Linked DNA regions of Homo sapiens: region 2 is linked to region 1. Evidence: promoter capture Hi-C in 16 types of primary human blood cells and fetal thymus (Javierre and others, 2016). All regions are on one chromosome and are shown on one strand. Each heading gives the region's core, a stretch centred on a gene start or on the middle of the fragment in contact. The rest is flanking DNA. Distances are from core to core; before and after follow the strand shown. Region 1 holds the start of CELA2A (chymotrypsin like elastase 2A). Region 2 holds the start of FHAD1 (forkhead associated phosphopeptide binding domain 1).

Region 1 (6,231 bases), core at 1,392-3,891:
GGGCAACATAGTGAGACCCATCTCTAAAAAAAAAAAAAGAAACTTAACCGGGTGTGGGGGCATGCACCTGTGGTCTCAGCTGATAGGGAGGCTGAGGTGGGAGGATCGCTTGAGCCTAGGAGTTCGAGGCCGCTGTGAGCCATGTTTCACCAGCCACTGTACTCCAGCCTGGGTGACAGAATGTGACACTGTCTCAAAAAAAAAAAAAAATTACTATGGGTGAGCACAGTGGTGGGTGCCTGTAATCCCAGCACTTTGGGAGGCTGAGGCAGGTAGATGGCCAGAGCCCAGGAGTTGGAGGCTGCAGTGAGCTATGATTGTGCCACTGCACTCCAGCCTGGGTGACAGAGCAAGACTCTGTCTCAAAAAAAGAAAAAAATGTGAAATATCTGCCATCATTCTATCGTTGACAGTCTTTTTTTTTTTTTTTTTTTTTTTTTTTTTTTTTTTTTTTTTTTTTTTTTATGGATCTCACTCTGTCACCCAGGCTGGAGTGCAGAGGTGTGATCTTGGCTCACCGCAACCTGCGCCTCCCAGGTTCAAGCGATTCTTGTGCCTCAGCCTCCCAAGTAGCTGGGACTACAGGTGCCCGCCACCATGCCTGGCTAATTTTTGTATTTTTAGTAGAGGCAGAGTTTCACCATGTTGGCCAGGCTGGTCTCAAACTCCTGACCTCAGGTGATCCACCTGCCTCGGCCTGCCAAAGTGCTGGGATTACAGGCATGAGCCACCACGCCTGGCCTATCATTGACAGTCTCTTAATCAAGGAGCAGATGAATGAACGCTGGCCTCTCTAAACACAGTGACTGCTGCATGGGTCACTCTGAATGCTCAAGGCTAGTGGGCTGCTAGTTGCTCCTCCTACTTAAGGTAGAAACTCATCCTGATTCAGCTGGGTTTGCTCCCAAAGCAGTTTATATCAATTATGCTTGTAATAATGAAATTTGATTAAACATGTAACCAATGAAATATGAGTTCAGAAAGAGAGTCGTTATTTATATGGAAACAAAGTTAAATGCTTGGAAGAGACTGGATCACCATGACTCTTAAAAAATTGCTCTTGAAGTAGTGTCTGTGAGAAAATGGAAAGATTGGATGGGCTCATAACTCAGATTGCTTTGTGAACGTCTCAAAGTTACTGCTCTGCTTTAAAGAAACGGGTTTGTAGATAAGATATGGGGCATGGCTTATATGAAAAAGACAGTTAAGAACTCAAAAAATTGTTTACATAGTCTAAGATAAAATCTTTACTATATATATATGATTTAAAATAATTTCTTTATAACCAACTTTTCAATTACTCGGTCCCAATTACATCAGATAAATGAGATTTCACTATATTTGTTTATGTCAATGTAAACTTTACACATTTCTCTTAAAATCCCCACCATTAACACGTCTGAGTAATTTACACCTGTGCCCCACTTGGCAGTTTAGTCTTGATACCACTATGATTATATCAACTTAAGAAAACATTTTTTTCATTGGTAACATTGATTTGCCTGTGGTTAAAGATTAATCTGCGCAAATAGCACTGATTGGTTCCTTAAAGCAAGGAATGTTTGCATAGGTAGTCTTGAATGGTTCCTAGACTGATGGTACATTTGTAAACAAGCCTCTGATTGGTTAATAGAGTAATACTATATTTGCTGCCTATGGGCAGTGGGGAGGGGACAGCTCCTTACTGCAGCTGGAGGAGGCACCTCTCCCTCCACTCCCAAGGTTGGCCAAGGCCACAGAAATGTATCTTTTTTTTTTTTTTTGAGACAGAGTCTTGCTTTGTTGCCCAGGCTGGAGTACAGTGGTGCAATTTCAGCTCACTGCAACCTCTGCCTCCTGGGTTCAAGCGATCCTCCTGCCTAAGCCTCCCCAGTTGCTGGGATTACAGGCGTGTGCCACCACACCTGGCTACTTGTGTATTATTAGTAGAGGCAGGTTTCACCATGTTGGCCAGGCTGGTCTCAAACTCCTGACTTCAGGTGATCTGCCCACCACAGCCTCCCACAGTGCTGGGATAACAGGCATGAGCCACTGCGCCCAGCCGGAAATATATCTTATTGCTAAAGTTGCCTGTGCTGCTCTCTGAGTCCCATCAATACTCACTTTGCCAGCACAATAGACGCCATGGTGGAAGGGCAAAGGGGAGATGTAAAGGGAGTGGGGCAGGGACGGGGAGAAGTACAGTGTGGTCAACTCACCTGCCAGGGCCAGCTGTTGGGCCTCGCTTCTTCACCGCCAACCACCCTAGTCACATAAGGTGGGTAAGTGGGGTCCCCACAACTGAGGGCTGTGAAAAGAGAAAGGGTCTTGAGTCAGGAAGCAGCGACCCACACAATGTAAACTACACTTGCTGCGCATTCTGACCCCCCAAATAGAAAACCCTTGTTCTAGAAGGATCCCAAGAGGTCATAGAATCCTGCTCTTTGCTCCAATTCTTTGAAACTCCATTCCAATGTTCTTATGATTATAGGTCTGAATGCAGTAGGGGTTGGGTGGGGGCGAGAGGGGAGGACAGGAAGATCCCATTTCCAGCCCCACCAGGGCATGGGAAACCAGTGCCTCTGGGTAACAGGACTTACCTCCAGCCACCAAAGTGGACAGCAGCAGCGTCCTTATCATGGTGTGTCCGTGGGAGTTCTGTAAGCGTGGCCCTGGATAAGGCCCTGGTTTTATGAGCGGACTTATCAGTGAGAGATACAGTAAGAGCACGCAAGATGGGGTTTTCTCAAAGCCCAGTGGAAAAAAGAGCTGTGTCCAAATATTTTTTTTTTCCCATTTCCTCCCAAATGTCACCCTAGAAATACTTTGAAAAAGATGCCAAAGGTAGATATTGGAATATGGGTTCCATCTGTTTTGAAGAGATTATGTTGTGTGTTAGGGAAGGAAGAAAAATACTAATTGTTGGTGCTCGGAGTTGTTTTTTTTTTTGTTTGTTTGTTTTTGTTCCCCTCCCTGGGTAAGACTGAGGAGAGGAGTTGTGTTTTCTTTCTTTCTTTCTTTCTTTTTTCTTTCTGAGATGGAGTCTTGCTCTGTCACCCAGGCTGGAATGAAGTGGCGTGATCTCAGCTCACTGCAACCTCTGCCTCCTGGGTTCAAGCAATTCCCCTGCTTCAGCCTCCCTAGTAGTTGGGATTACAGGTGTGTGCCACCATTGCTGGCTAATTTTTGTATTTTTAGTAGAGACGGGGGGTCTCATCATGTTGGCCAGGCTGGTGTCGAACTCCTGGCCTCAAGTGATCTGCTCGCCTCGGCCTCCCAAAGTGCTAGGATTACAGGCTGAGCCACCATGCCCGGCCAGGAGTTGTGTTTTCAATGAAAAGATTAAGGTGGCATGCTGAGCCCACAGCATTCTAAGGCAGTATTTCTCAATGGGGCTGGTTCAGCCCACCAGGAGACGTTTGACAACATCTGGAGAGAATTTTGGTTGTCATGGCTGGGGTTGATGTAAATTGGCATCCAGTGGGCAGGGAGCAGAGAGCAGAGACGCTGCTAAACACCCGACAATGCACTGGGCAATAGGACTCGCCCTGCCCCAAATGTCAATGGTGCTGAGACTGAGAAAGCCTGTTCTAGGCCATACCAGGGGTTGCAATGTGACCTTGGCTGAGTCATGTAAGTCTCTAGACCCATCTGTGAAACAGGGAGAGAAACCCATGCCCAGTATTGTTTCACAACATTGTGGTAAGGATTTGTATAATGTGGGGAAGGTGCACATGTAGCAGAATTTGCATAATGCGGGGAAGGTGCACATGTAGCAGAAGGCAAGGCCGACATGCACAATTAGGATCTGGCCACTCTAATGATGGGGGGAAGCAGAACGCTGGCAGAGGAGGGCTTCATCTGGTGGATGAAAATGCACTTTACGGCCGGGCACGGTGGCTCACTCCTATAATCCCAGAACTTTGGGAGGCTGATGCGGGCAGACCACCTGAGGCCAGGAGTTCAAGACCAGCCTGGCCAACATGGTGAAACCCCGTCTCTACTAAAAATACAAAAATTAGTAGCGTGTGGGGCTGCATGCCTGTAGTCCCAGCTACTCAGGAGGCTGAGGCAGGATAACCTCTCGAACCTTGGAGGTGGAGGTTGCAGTGAGCTGAGATCGCACCACTGCACTTTAGTTTGGGCAACAGAGCAAGACTCCATCTCAAAAAAAAAAAAAAAAAAGACCAGCTCCACACTCTTAAGACTTGATATCAAGTGTTTTTTTTTTTTTTTTTTTTTTTTTTTTTTTTTTTTTTTTGAGACGGAGTCTCGCTCTGTCACTCAGGCTAGGGCGTAGTGGCGCGATCTCGGCTCACTGCTACCTCTGCTTCTCAAGTTCAAGTGATTCTTCTGCCTCAGCCTCCCTAGTAGCTGGGACTACAGGCACCGGCCACCACACCCGACTTATTTTTGTATTTTTAGTAGAGACGGGGTTTCACCATATTGGCCAGGCTGGTCTTGAACTCCTCACCTCGTGTTCGTCCGCCTCGGCCTCCCAAAGTGCTGGGATTACAGGCATGAACCACCGCGCCCAGCCGAGTTCAAGTCTTTGATCCATCAATTTTGAGTGTGGTGGTCTGGACAAGCCACTTATCTTCTGGGCCTTACTTTCCTAGATAACCATCCAGGCCTGGATTGCAGGATTGTTGTACGGGTAAGAAAATGGGTGGGAAAGAATTCTGCAATCTCCCTAGGATGGTGCAAAGGTGAGAAAGATTGGGTGGGGGGCAGCATCCCATGGGACTGGATGTCAGAAGATGTAGATTCCAGTCCCAACTCCATCCCATAATCCCTGTAACAGTTTGGACTCATTTGTGGTCTGTATGAGTCACTACAGCAACCAACTATTTCTTAAGTCTCATATTTTATCTTAAAGGTTCATGTGAATTTGGCGTTCTGCTCTGTATCTTTGTTTGTTTTAATATAAAAATAAAGTTTGTCCTGTATGAGGCCACTGAACAAACACCTGCTGTGAATTTGCTGTGTGACCTTGGGCCAATCCCACAGGCTTTCTGGCCCGGGGTGCCTATCTACAAACAGGGAGAGGAACAGATGCTTGGTCTGTTCCATCACATTGCTGTCAGGATTTTTTGTTTTGCTTTGTTTTTTGTTTGTTTTTTTGAGACAGAGTCTCGCTCTGCCACCCAAGCTGGAATGCAGTGGCGCCATCTCGGCTCACAGCAACCTCCATCAGGAGGTTCAAGCGATTCTCCTGCCTTTGCCTCCTGAGTTCCTGGGATTACAGGTGCCCGCCACCATGCCCGGCTAATTTTTTGTAATTTTAGTAGAGACGGGGTTTCATCATGTTGGCTAGGCTGGTCTCGAACTCCTGACCCCAGGTGATCTGAGATTACATGCGTAAGCCCCCGTGCCTGGCCAGATGCGAAATTCTCACGGGGTTTGTGACTCATTCAGAACAACTACTCTGAGGAGCCACGTGGCTTAGGGGCTGGGGGCCTGGGCTTAAGACCCCCAGTGCCTCTGTGTAGTGAGTCTGTGGTTTGGCTCCTCTCTACGGAGTGTGGCCTGGGCCAGCAGCATCAGCACAGCTCAGTCGCTGGTTAGAAATGCAGAATTTCCCATCTTCGGTGTCTGTGGTTTAATAGGATCCCCAGATGATTTTGTTCCTCTGCATATTAACATTTGAGAGGCACTGGGCTAGGGTACATTTCACTCTATTCCTTGAGTTTCTCACCTATCAAAGAGAAGCAATAACAATACCATTTATGTCTTAGGATTGTTAGAATCAAACAACAGTTTATTCACTGAAAGCACTCAGAATAGTAACTGTGCAATAAACATTTACTCTTAATTCCTTAGACCTGCGGGCCTCCGATATTAGAGCAGCACAGAATTCTTGAAACCTTTTCATCAAAGAATCCAAGTAGTTTAGCGGCTGGCAAACTTTCTGTGTAAAGGGCCAGATACTAAATATTTCAGACTTGCAGACCATATGGTCTCTGTCACAACTAGTCAACTCGGCCGTTGCAGTGCAAAAGCAGCCATATGGGCATAGCCATGTTCCAATAAAACTTTATTTACAAAACAGATTTGGTTTGCAGGCTCTAGTTTGCAGTAAAGTGATGATCTGGGGTCTAGCACGCAGCACTAACAATAGCAAAATGTCTTGGAAGTCTCATTCTTCATCTGAAAGCTTAATTTGAATTTTGCAACTTCATAATATAGCTGGGTTCATTTCAATATAAAGTTTTTTCTTCCCTTCTGATCTTCACAGAAAATGGATGCTAT
Region 2 (6,231 bases), core at 1,716-4,215, 210 kb after region 1:
CAGTCTCTCTCTTTTCCATTCAATTGAAAAGTCAGTGAAATGACAAATTATTGGACTATGGGTAAAAACAAAAATCAACTAGTTGTGGTGGTACGGACTCTCGGGGCTGGCTCTGCTTTTCATCATCATCTCTATCATCATTTATGGAGTCCTTAGTAAGTGCCAGGCACTTTTCCTTGAATATACTCTTTTCATCCTCAGAGAAACCCTGCAAGGTGGGTGTCATTATTGTCCCTACTTTACAGAAAAGGAGACTGAGATGCAGAGAGGTTAAGGTCCCCTAGCATTCGGGCAGGGAGATTGCCATTGCATGTCACCACTACATAATCCTCAGGCAGCTCAACTTTTCACACCTCCATCACTGCTGGGTGGGGAGGGGATGGGATGGGGGAGCAGAGAGAGTGACTGAGTGGGGGGAGGGAGAGGTTGTCACTTGGGATAGTGGGGTTGTCACTGTTTTGTTGACACTTAGGACATGAAATAACAGATAGCCCTTAACACCAGAATTCTATCCTCTGCAAAAAAAGAAAAGACCCTTGGGAGTAAGAGAAATAAAAACAAGCCAGATAGTTTATGTTTGTAAATTCCGAAGCCTATGAGAAATCCTCAGAAATATTAATACTTTCATATAATGAGAATTTTATTTTTAAGTCTGCTGTCTTTAATAGGGATAAAAAGACACTTCTTTTTCCAAAAGAACCATGCCCTGTTGCCCTCAAATTGCCTGAGTTATTAATCTTCAATTGCAGAGGACTACATCATCAAGCACCACATCCAAACTAAAGTAAAAGTAATCTAAAGTCAACTTTCGAGAAATGTCTCTTTTGTGGGAAAGCCACAGGAAATGCCTCCAGAGTAAAACCCCAAATCTGAATGACTGGCTTTTTTTTTTTTTTTAGCTCTTCCCCCCGATGTTTCCACAGCTGGTGCCTTGCGGTAGCTACCTGACCACCCCAGCTAAAGGCGTCACCAGTCACTTTGTTGTCTAGCTAGCATGTGTCACTGCTGTGGCTCCTTCCTTGAGCTTATCATTCTCTGTCATTTTCTTGTTCTTTACTTAGCTGTTTACTGTTTCCCTTTCACTGAGATACGTTCCAAGAGAGCCCAAACTGTGTTGTTTTTGTTAAACTCAATTCTCCATGGGTTTCCTGTGTTTGTACCCATCTTCAGAGCAAAGACACTGACAGATTTTGTTCCAGACAATCTTCCAAGGACATCTGTAGGGCAAATATCCTGAGAGGATAGGGATAGTGTCCCTATCCAGGGCAGAGTGCAGATTTATGATAAAAATGTCATCTCTGGCTGGGCACGGTGGCTCATGCCTGTAATCCTAGCACTTTGGGAGGCCCAGGTGGACGGATCACCTGAGGTCAGGAGTTTGAGACCAGCCTGGCCAACATGGCGAAACCCTGTCTCTACTAAAAACACAAAAAAATTAGCCGGGCATGGTGGCTTGCACCTGTAGTCCCAGCTAATCGGAAGTCTGAGGCAGGAGAATCACTTGAAACCGTGCAGCAGAGGTTGCAGTGAGCTGAGATTGTGCCACTGCACTCTATCTAGCTTGGGAGACAGAGCAAGACTCTGTCTCAATTAAAAAAAAAAAAAAAAGGTCATCTCCTTCCAGGGCAAAGGTTGGGCACTGGCTAGCAGCCCCTTTTAAAAGACTGGAGTTTCCTGAGCTTGGGGTTCCTTAGCTGGGAAACAGACTCGCAGTGTGCACAGCATCCACCTGAGCTGTCCTGCATCACCCCGGGGTACTTGCAGGGCAAGGGGAACCAACGCAAACATGAGCTCACAGTGCCTGCTGTGCTGTGAGTAATAACATCCTTTGTCTCTGGTCCTGGAGTCTCTGGTCTTCTGCTAGCATCATTAAGCAGTGGCAGGCTAACTTAGCTTGCAAGTAGTGTAAAAATCTCAGACCCTTTGCATTTCCTCACAGTCTGTTCATTACTCCCCTCTGGCCCCCAGCGCTGCCATGCCTGACACATAGTGGTGCTCAGTAAATCATGAATGAATGAAAGTACAAAACAATGCTTAAAAGTAAGTCAGGGTAGCCTAAGAACCTCTGACAGTAACTACCTTTCATTTTCCCCTTCAGTATTTATCCTAGATGACATTCTGGAAAAAAAAAAAAAAGTCTATTTCTTTAGCTGAATGGGTTGGGCCCTATTTCCCCACTTTAATCTTGCCCTGTGCAGTCACTTTCCTACCTGAAAACACTGTAGAAAGTGATTAGATGCGTTAAACTCTGTAAATTAGTTCTAAGACACAGGGCACCGACCATGCAAAAGAGCAAAAGAGCTTCAGGCATCTGCACTCCCTGCTTATAGGTCACAAGTGAGATAGAGAAGCAAAATTTCTGTTGAGGGGTTACCAGATCTTAAGTGGCCTGGGAGCCCTAGAAATTCCTCAGTGTTGTATTTGGGAAGGGAGAGGTTAGGCAAGGGGGGAGTCTCTCTGACCGCCGGGTGGGTGTCGTTCGTAAGTCAGGGGCAGCAGGGATGCCCCTCCTAATCCCAGCTGTAACCCCCAGGACTTCCCAGAGTGGCATGGCTGGTGCCAAGGAGGGTCTAAGGCTCCCGGGGGCTTCCTCCGCGGGCGGGGTGGGGCCTGCATCTGGAAAGGAGGGGCTGGTGTTGGGGTAGCTACTGGGGTGCTCCTGGGGACCGGAGCCTGGATCCAGGAGGATGGGGCCGGGGAGCCACCCCTCCTCCTGCCAGGGCTAGTCCTCGCTGGGCCGCCCCTTCCGGTCCCCGGTCTCGGCCCGCCACCCCTTCCCGCGCCGCACTCACCTGGCGGGAGGAGGAAGCCCACGCTCCGACCTCCGCCGAGAGCCCTGCCAGCTCGGGAGGCGTCGGGCCAGCTCCGGGGCGAAGCCTCCCGGCCGCGCTCCCGCGGAGTCTCCAGCTCGCACCCGGCACCCCGCCCGCCCGGCCGGCCTGTGTACGCGCGTTGCCATGGCAACGCCGCCAGGCGCCGCGGGGTCCAGCCTAATAGATGAGGGCGTGGCCTGCGCGGCAGAGGGGGCGTGGCACCGTGCAGGGAACGCCCACTGGGTTACCGCCTGCTGAATGCTCCAGGCCCCACGAGCCTGCCCCATTTCACAGATAGGAAAGCGGAGGCTCAGAGGTCACAGAAATGGCCCAAGGTTTTACAGCGAGGAAGGAGCAGGGAGGAGATTTGATTCAAGAATCCTTTCCATTACCCCTCACTGTAAGCTGGATGCGTTGAGGGAGGGTCGGGGGCGATAGGGAGAGGTAGGAGATTGATGGAGCTGAACTCATGAGACCCTTGGAGGTTAGTATGCCCCCTGCCCTACCCAAATCTCTAGTCCTTTCCGTTACAGGCCAGAAAATAGAAAGAGTAAGAAGAGGGGATCTCTGGGAGTGGGGTGGGGATTGGGAAAGGGATGGGGTGGAATGAAAAATTTTGAAAGAATGAGGATTTCTTCCATGTGCTGGGGAAAAAATATTTCCAAACTCACAATCCTGCTGCCTCTGCTCCTCCCTGTTAAGAGTGACATTTATTCATTCTTTTGCCCTTTCTCTATCTCTGCAAACATCTTTTGAGTCCTATGAGTGTCACACGCTGATCCCAGAATACACCTGGAACAGTTACTGTCCTTAAGAAACCGCTTGTCAGCCGGCACAGGACTCGCGGGATGGAGTGTGTTGAGCAGATGTGCAAATCCTATCTCCCGCCACTATCTCCAGCAGGAAATCCTATCTCCTGCTGACTCTACCTGGAGAGTGATTCCTTTCACTGGCAGGAAATGGCTGACCAGACACCTCAAGAAAAACTCTAAACGTTTTTCTAAGAGAGATGAACTATGGCACATTCTACCCTAGTGATACGGTTTGGCTGTGTGTCCCCACCCAAATTTCATCTCGAATTGCACTCCCCACGTGTTGGAAGAGGGGCCTGGTGGGAGGTGATTGAATCATGGGGGCAGACTTCCCGCTTGCTTTTCTCATGATAGCGAGTGAGTTCTCATGAGATCTGATGGTTTAAAAGTGTGGCACTTCCCCCTTTGCTCTCTCTCTCTCCTGCTACACCATGTTACAACATGCTAGCTTCCTTGCTTCCCCTTGGCCTTCCGCCATAACTGTAAGTTTCCTGAGGCCTCCCTAGCAGTGCAGAACTGTGAGTCAATTAAACTTCTTTTCTTTGTAAATTATTCAGTCTCAAGGAATTACTTTATAGCAGTGTGAGAACAGACTAATACACCTAGTCAATAGGAAGAGGATCTGAGAGAGAAATCATGGACATCGATTTGTGGTGGAATATACAGTGAAGATGCTCAAACGTGCCTGGAGGCTTTTAGAAATGCGGACTTCTGGGCACAGACCCCAGAGATTCTGATTTAGCAGGCCTGGGACATAATCCAGGAATGTGCATTTGCAACAAGCTTGACAAAACCCTGATTTATGCAGCTGAACTGCAGAGACCTCTCCCGGAGCCTGTCCCTACAAATCTCTTCCAGGCCCTCAGTCTGGAAGGTTCTGCCTGGATCAGTTTCCTACAACCAGAAAGATTCTAGGCGTAAAATGTTAGGAGGGACCACAAGGGCTGGGACCCAAGTGATGGCTTCACAGGAACAGAGAGGGTCAAGCTCAGCTTCCCACACGTTTCTGCCTCAGAGCCTTTGCTCTTGCCCATTCCTCTGCCTGGAATGCACTTCCCCTCAAGAGTCTCCTTTGCCTTCTTTACTTTAGCTTTTTACTCACATATCATCTTTTCTAAAATTGGTTTTTTGAAACAATGAAACAACCACCATGAAATCTAATAAACAACAAAAAAGAGCAAATAAAAACAATAAGAACAGCAAAAGCAAATAAAAATAAGAACAACAAAAGCAAATAAAAATAAGAACAACAAAAGCACATCCAAACAAAATAAAAACCTCAACACTCTATCCCTCTTCCCTTCTTTTTGCCACTTGCTATAGTTAGAATATTTGACCCCTCCAAATCTCATGTTGAAATTTGCTCCTCAGTGTTGGAGGTGGGGCCTGGCGGGAGGTGCTTGGATCATGCGGGCGAATCCCTCATGGATGGCTTGGTGCTGTTCCTGTAGGGTGCATGAGTTCTCACTCTATCAGTTTCCTAAAGAGCTGATTGTTAGAAAGAGCCTGGCACCTCCCCCTCGCTCACTCTCACTTCCTCTCTCATCATGTGATCTCTGCACATGCAGGCGCTACTTTCTGCCAGGAGTGGAAGCAGCCTGAGACCCTCACCAGAGGCAGATGCTGGCACCATGCTTCTTGTACAACCTGCAGAACTGTGAGCCAAATAAACCTCTTTTCTGGATAAATGACACAGCCTCAGGTATTACTTGATAGCAACACAAATGGACTAATACATCACTTATCATCAACTCACATACTATTTCTTTATTTATTTATGTTATTTATTGTGTCTCCCTCCCTGACCCCTGGTAGAATCTAAACTCCATGAAAGCAGGAATTTCTTTTTTCATGTTTTGTTTGCTGCTGTGCCACCAGTCCCTAGAACAATGTCTGAATGAATAAATATGCAGGGGGAAGCCCCTGCCACCCTTCTGAAGCCCGGCCTCCTGTCCTCTGAGGACTGCTGGGCTGACCTGTCCTCGCCCCAGGATGTCGGCTTCTCTAGTCCCCTGCCCAGGCCTGAACACCACCTCCATCCCTACCACCACCCCTCCATGCTTGTCTTTGGTCAAACTCTTGTCATTAACATGAACCCAGGACACAAACTTGCTATCAGACAGACCCCAGTGAAACCCAGGCTGGCCATGAGCTGGAACAGCCCATGCCCCTCACCAGGCTTTGAGAGATCATCTGTTGCTGTTAGCTGATATCTCAATGAAAAACAAAAAATCCTAAACTGAGAGCAAAGCTGACACTCAGAATCAGTGGAGCCGAAGTTGCCAAATCTTAATTGGATCCTCTGTCCCTCAGGATGCCACTGTTATCTCAAGGGTGTGCAAAGTTCTTGAAACCCAATTCCGTATCATCCATTTTCATTTCAAAAACAGAAAATCAAATACCCAATAACTTAGGGTTTTATGATATAATTTCCTGGGCTGAGTAAGAGAGTTGTACATTGCAATTAAACAGTGATGCGGCATTAAAAATACTGTCCCTGAAAAAAAAAAATAGATGTTTCTAGATTACTTGTGCTTCTTGGCAGTGCCTACAGTTAACCTTTTATTGAACTCTTGGTGACGACGAAGCCCATATTGTAGGAAATA

What was found. Contacts are between HindIII fragments. The CHiCAGO score rates a contact against its expected background, and 5 or more counts as called.
Region 2: a contact is called between the fragment with the promoter of FHAD1 here and the fragment with the promoter of CELA2A in region 1, in 3 of 17 cell types (erythroblasts, total CD8 T cells and total B cells). The highest score is 5.5, in erythroblasts.

The regions. Positions count from the first base shown.
Region 1 is chr1:15,453,142-15,459,372 of GRCh38, reverse strand. CELA2A (chymotrypsin like elastase 2A) reads right to left here and starts at 2,641. Exons shown (of 8, transcript NM_033440.3): 1 at 2,580-2,641; 2 at 2,199-2,287. The coding sequence starts at 2,619. The HindIII fragment of the contact is 8,750 bases long and covers 1-6,138 here.
Region 2 is chr1:15,243,957-15,250,187 of GRCh38, reverse strand. FHAD1 (forkhead associated phosphopeptide binding domain 1) reads right to left here and starts at 2,965. Exons shown (of 34, transcript NM_001391957.1): 1 at 2,793-2,965. RefSeq lists silencers at 2,700-2,939, 2,957-3,130. The HindIII fragment of the contact is 5,643 bases long and covers 1-4,410 here.